Linked DNA regions of Homo sapiens: region 2 is linked to region 1. The links are contacts of gene promoters, found by promoter capture Hi-C in human tissues and cell types (Jung and others, 2019). All regions are on one chromosome and are shown on one strand. The core of a region is centred on a gene start or on the middle of the fragment in contact, and the rest is flanking DNA. Distances in the headings are between cores, read along the strand shown.

Evidence for each region. Contacts are between HindIII fragments. The study calls those that stand out against the background at their distance.
Region 2: a fragment that was not itself captured here is called in contact with the fragment with the promoter of KLHDC2 in region 1 in 1 of the 25 tissues and cell types used here (mesenchymal stem cells).

The regions. Positions count from the first base shown.
Region 1 is chr14:49,766,817-49,769,982 of GRCh38, forward strand. KLHDC2 (kelch domain containing 2) reads left to right here and starts at 1,337. Exons shown (of 13, transcript NM_014315.3): 1 at 1,337-1,805. The coding sequence starts at 1,653. RefSeq lists silencers at 737-796, 1,137-1,216, 1,387-1,566. The HindIII fragment of the contact is 15,286 bases long and covers 1-3,166 here.
Region 2 is chr14:49,600,997-49,604,044 of GRCh38, forward strand. LRR1 (leucine rich repeat protein 1) reads left to right here. Exons shown (of 4, transcript NM_152329.4): 2 at 1,374-1,472. Among named protein-coding and RNA genes, the nearest start is that of LRR1, 3.6 kb to the left of the region's middle. The HindIII fragment of the contact is 4,652 bases long and covers 1-3,048 here.

The sequences.
Region 1 (3,166 bases), core at 87-2,586:
GGTGATCCGCCTGCCTCGGCCTTCCAAAGTGTTGGGATTACAGGCGTGAGCCACCGCGCCCAGCCGAGATATTAATTTTGGATTCTACTAAGGACGACGGGAGCCAGCTCAAGGTTTTTAAGTGACTCGATCAGATTCACGAGGTTGGTTCACAAGGAACTTCGATAACCCCAAAGTCTAGTGAGCATAATTCGACTGGGAGAAGACACTGCTGCAAGGAATTCTGTGAACCAGACAGATTTGAGGGCACCAACCAGGGTGGATGGCAGATAAGGTCTTAACAGCCTCAAGGTGATTTGCTTCCTTGTTGAAGGCTTTAATTAATCCTCTTAAGTAACTTTCAAGTTCTTGAGTTCAAGTAAACACACTGGCACACTAGGGGAGGAGTGGCAGGCTATAAGCATTTTAATAATTAAAAAAAAAAAGCCTTTTATTGTTCAAAGTGTTCCTTTTCTATGGAGTGCTCCCAACCAGAAGATGAGGGAAATGGAGATAATGAAGCACGTCCCTCCTACCAAACACGATAAATTCTACAGGCACTGTAAGATCAAGAATTTAAGATTATTTTTGTCCCACCCTATTTTACAGGTGAGGTATCAAGCACAGTAACTCGTAATTTTCTTTTGGCCCAATTGAAAGGTATCATATAAGAGAAAGCTGTGTGTGCGTGAAAAGGATCCGCCTTTCTTTCTGAAGAAAAGGGTGGTTACGGCTTCGGAAACGCTTTTCAAGCCAACTCTGCAGCCCGGCTGGCGGCGGCAGCGGCGGCGGCGGCAACGTCAGATTCCCGCAGAGGCGGCGCCCGGCAGGGGCGGCAGGAGCTCAGGAGAGGCCCCCGGGGATCGGGCTGGGCCCCACGTGAGAGCTAAGCGACTGCCCTCGCGCCCGCAGAACAGCAGGGCCTGCATCGACTCTAAGGCGAGACCAGAAACTTGCTAGTGGAGCAATTCTGGTGCCCCTGCCCGGGCTGTGAACCCTCTGAGATCATCCCTCAATCAAACGAATAGAAATCCTCGGGAAGAAAAAAAAAATTGCGGCAATCCGGCTAAAATTCAGCAGCTTTCAGGGACCGATTCAGGACATTATCCCTGTGGTTCCCTCAGTGAAAGGAGACTCGAAGCGCGACTAGAAGTCGCCGGGCCCCATAGATCTGCGGTGCCCAGGCCGTAGGCGGAGGCGCGGGCAGAGGCGGCGGCGGCGGCGGCGGCGGCTGGAGGACCCGGCGCTGGGGGCGCTGAGCGGCAGCCTCGCTTCCGGAGCTCGGCGGGCGGCGTCAGCGGAACGGGCGGCTTCCGGCCGCGGCGTAAACAAGGCCGTGGACTGCAGGAGGCGGGGCAGACGGGCTGCAATAGGGAGCCGGCCCGACGCGGACCGCTTCCCTGCAGTGCCCCGAGTCCCGGGCCCGCGCCGCCGCCGCCCGGCTCCGCTCGCGGCCCCTCTGTCTGCAGGCGTGCCCCGGCGGCGGCGGAGAGCCGTCCTCGGCCGAGGAGGCTGGGAAACGCGAGCGCAGGCGGCAGAGAGGCCTCAACGCCGTCCCTTTCGCCACCGCCTTTTCCTTGCCTCGCGCCGCTGTGCATTTCTCTCCTTTTCCTTTGTTTTTTTGGCCCCTCGCGGGTGTGGGCATTGTTGGTTAGCAAAAGTGCAGCCTCAAGATGGCTGATGGCAACGAGGATCTGCGGGCTGACGACTTGCCTGGGCCAGCCTTCGAGAGCTATGAGTCCATGGAGCTTGCCTGCCCCGCTGAGCGCAGCGGCCACGTAGCCGTCAGCGACGGGCGCCACATGTTCGTCTGGGGCGGCTACAAGGTCAGTGAGTGGCCGGGCCGCGACGGACGTCGCTCGGCTGTGACTCGGGTCTGCGTTCGCGGCCAGGCGGGGAGGCCAGAGCGGGCCGCCGAGGGCGCTCCCCGCCTGCGTCGCGCGCCCCACCTCAGACTCTGCCCGTTGGTTGTTTTTTTTTTGCGCGCGGGAATCTTCCTTCTCTCGAGTACCCCAACCCGTCTCGAACCTCCAGGGCTGCTGTCATGTCACCCTGGTGCTCACAAAGCCAACTCACTCCCACCCCCGTTGTTGCCATTGGAGCGTTATTCCGGGGAAGGCCCTGTTAATGTTGCTTGGGCGGTGCATTCGGAAGGGTTGGGGTGTGAAAGGTGACGGTGTGTGATATCACTCAGACGCGTTATGAGGACGGCCTACGAGGACTTCACCCTCTGGAGCTGGGAACCGCTGCCCACTTACAGGGAGGCCGAGGTGTAGGAAAACTGGAATTCCAAAAGGTTACAGGAACCACCTTATTCAGCCTTCCCGCCTGTGCAAATGGCCATCAGGACTGTTTTCCTTCTGGCTTCAGCTGGGTTGAAGTTTTTCAGCAGACACCCCTATTAAGATAATGGAAAAGCTCCACCAGTAACCAAAAAATCCCCAGCATCAAATGAACTACAGAGTGCAGCTCTTTGACTCTCCGATCCCCTGGTTATAAACAACGTGATTAGTTAGCAGTTTAAAGCCAGTTGCCATTCTTTACCCTGCTAACCTCGGAAATCTAGAATTTTATTTGCTAGGATGGCTCTGAGCCAGTCCTACCACAAAATTCCTCTTTGGTCTTGAAAATGTTCTCCGCCCTCCCCACGCCCGTGCCTTGGATGACTTGCTTTGTGATTGTTTTTAGCTTATGGTACAGCTGACTTGATCATAGTTGACCATTTTTGAGATAGCTTTCAAAGATGGCTGTCCTGATACTTTATTTTGGTTTAACTGCAAAAGTAATTTTTTGCCAATCCTAATGAATCTGCAGTGTTTTCCCCAGTTTCCAATGAATGTGGTTAGAAAATAGAAAGGGGGCCGGGCGCGGTGGCTCACGCCTGTAATCCTAGCACTTTGGGAGGCCAAGGTAGGTGGATCAGCTGAAGTCAGGAGCTCGAGACCAGCCTGGCCAACATAGTGAAACTCCGTCTCTACTAAAAATACAAAAAAAAAAATTAGCCTGGCGTGGTGACGGGCGCCCTAATCCCGTCTACTTGAGAGGCTAAGGCAGGAGAATCACTTGAACCAGGGAGGCGGAGTTTGCAGTGAGCTGAGACGGCGCCATTGCACTCCAGCCTGGGCAACAAGAAGGAAACTGTCTCAAAAATACTTTAGAAAGGGGTAGAGAATTGCAAGAAGGGGGG
Region 2 (3,048 bases), core at 384-2,883, 170 kb before region 1:
CTTTTCTCCAGTTAATTGTTCTTGTATGTAAGTTGCTTTCTATTCCAGCATACCCAGAGTGGTGAAATAACAAGGCCAGCCACGTAGCCAAAGGTCGCTCCAAGCGTACAGGAGATGGGCCATACCTGAGGAGAGAATGTATGAGATCAAAAAAGAACAAATGTTTTATTACTTGAGCACAAGTGTAACCTAAATATTTCTATATTAAAGCTTAATGTGCTTTCTTAAAAAAAATCAGGTCACAGCATCCTGCACTTGCCTTGTCTTGATATTTGTTATGCTTATAAGTACTTGTTTAATAACTATCTCTCATCAGATTGTCAACTCTTTAAGTGTAGTTACCCTGTCAGTCTTATTCATTGCTATGTCCCAAGCCCCTATTAGAGTACCTGGTACATAGTGGGTTCTGAATCAATAGTTGTTGAAATCTAAAGCAGATGCAACAGCAATCATTAATTTTTTTTAAATTTTAAATATGCCATTTATATAGATGATAATCATTAAATTTTTTTTGAGCACTCATTATGTGTCAGTCATCGTTCTAGCACTCAGGATAGAATAGCAAAGGAGACAAGATTCCTGCTCTCATGGAGTTTGTATATAACCTACTGGGAGGTGTGCCCACCCCAGGCTAATGGACTGAAGTTATGAAGGCAAGTAACTGCTATTGGCAACTCTTCCTACAGTTACATAGTTGGAATGGGAGAAAAGGAGCATTCTCTCAAAACATGGTGATCCTGTTCTCAAAGGAGAGTTACTGGACAGACAGAGCAGTAACATCCACCACCAGCTAGATGAGGAGTATAACTTCCCAACTGCTAAAAAAAAAAAAAAAAAAAAAAACTTTAAAACTTGGCCACGCGCCGTGGCTCATGCCTGTAATCCCAGCACTTTGGTAGGCCCAGGCAGGCAGATCACTTGAGGCCAGGAGTTCTAGACCAGCTTGGCCAACATGATGAAACCGTGTTTCTACTAAAAATACAAAAATTAGCCGGGCATGGTGGCACGCACCTGTAATCCGAGCTACTCAGGAGGCTGAGTCATGGGAATTGCTTGAACCTGGGAAGTGGAGGTTGCAGTGATGGCACCACTTCACTCCATCCTGGGTGAGAGTGAGTGAGACTCTGTCTCAAAAAAAAACAACTTTTTTTTTTTTTTTTTTTTTTTTTTTGAGAAGGAGTCTCTTTCTGTTGCCCAGCCTGGAGTGCAGTGGCGTGATAAAAAGCTTTAAAACTTAAAATGAAAACACTCAGACTCAAGGACTAAAAGCCAAACCAAAGCCTGGCAAAGTAACTGGCACATTCTAGTTGTAATAAATGTTACTGAGTAACAATAATTAGTTTTCTTCTTTTTTTTCTATTGGTTTTATGCAGCTAAGGGAGAACATTGAGCAATTCTTCACCAAATTTGTAGATGAGGGGAAAGCCACTGTTCGGTTAAAGGAGCCTCCTGTGGATATCTGTCTAAGTAAGGTATGGTATTAAAAACATTAATGATTAATATTTGGCTGTATTTTCTTTATTTTTTAGAAACAGAGTCTTGTTCTGTCACCCAAGCTGAAGTACAGAGGCATAGTCATAGCTCACTGCATCAAACACCTAGGCTCAAGCGAGCCTCCTGAATATCTGGGACTAAAGGTGTACCTCACCACTCCCGGATAAATTTTTAAAATAACTTTTTGTAGAGACGGAGTCTTGATATGATGTTGCCCAGACTGGCCTTGAACTCCTGGCCTCAAGCGATCCTCTTGCCTCAGCCTCCCAAAGTGTTGGGATTATAAGCATGAGCCACCATACTTGGCCTGGCGTGTATTTGCTTGCTTGCTTGCTTTTTTTGTTTGTTTGTTTGTTTGTTTTGAGACGGAGTTTTGCTCTTGCTGCCCAGGCTGGAGTGTAGTGGCACGATCTCAGCTCACTGCAACCTCCATCTCCCGGGTTCAAACAATTCTCCTGCCTCAGCCTCCCGAGTAGCTGGGATTACAGACACCCACCACCATGCGTGGCTGATTTTTTTTTTTTTTTTATCTTTAGTAGAGACAGGGTTTCACCATGTTGACCAGGCTGGTCTTGAACTCCTGAACTCAGGCGATCCACCCACCTCAGCCTTCCAAAATGCTGGGATTACAGGCGTGAGCCACTGTGCTCAGCCTGGCCTGTATTTTCTTTAAAGAAGGCTGTTTGCACATTCTGCTATCCCATATAGCCGAATAGGGACAGACTCTTGCAGGTTTTTTGAAGAGGCAATGGCACAAGAGGCAGCTTCCCAAATATGCTTGTGTGCCTTCTAAAAGGGCAAAGTCTGCCTCAGTAAGATTCCCAGGATGGGAAGAAAACTGGGTTTGCTTCTGTGCTCAAGATGGAGCCCTAGGGTGTTCTTTGACTGGAACTCTATAAGGCAACTGCACAGGTCTACATTTTGCCAGCTAAACCACAGGTTACAAATCTAAGTTTGTTGTAATAAAAGAGGAAAAAATTCAATTAGAACCATCTTGTATTTTATTTACTGTAATCATTCTTTCTTCTTCTTCTTTTTTTTTTTTTTTTTTTTTTTTTGAGATGGAGTCTCATTCTGTCACCCAGGTTGGAGTGCAGTGGGAAGAGCTTGGTTCACTGCAACCCACAGGTGGGTGCCACCACTCCTGGCGAATTTTTGTCTACTGTGCCTGGCCCTTACTGTAATCATTCCTTTTTTTTTTTTTTTTTTTTTTTTTTTAATGAGACAGAGTCTCTCCCTGTCACCCAGGCTGGATTACAGTGGCGTGATCTCAGCTCACTGCAACCTCCACCTCCCGGGTTCAAGCGATTCTCCTGCCCCAGCCTCCCAGTAGCTGGGATTACAGGCACGTGCCGCCATGCCCAGCTAATTTTTTGTATCTTTAGTAGAGACGGGTTTCACCATGTTGGCCCGGCTGGTCTCAAACTCCTGACCTCGTGATCCGCCCACCTTGGCCGCCCAAAGTGCTGGGATTATAGGCATGAGCCACCGTGCCCGGACTGTAATCATTCTTATAAAAATATAAACTGAGGCTGGGTGCCATAGCTCACACCT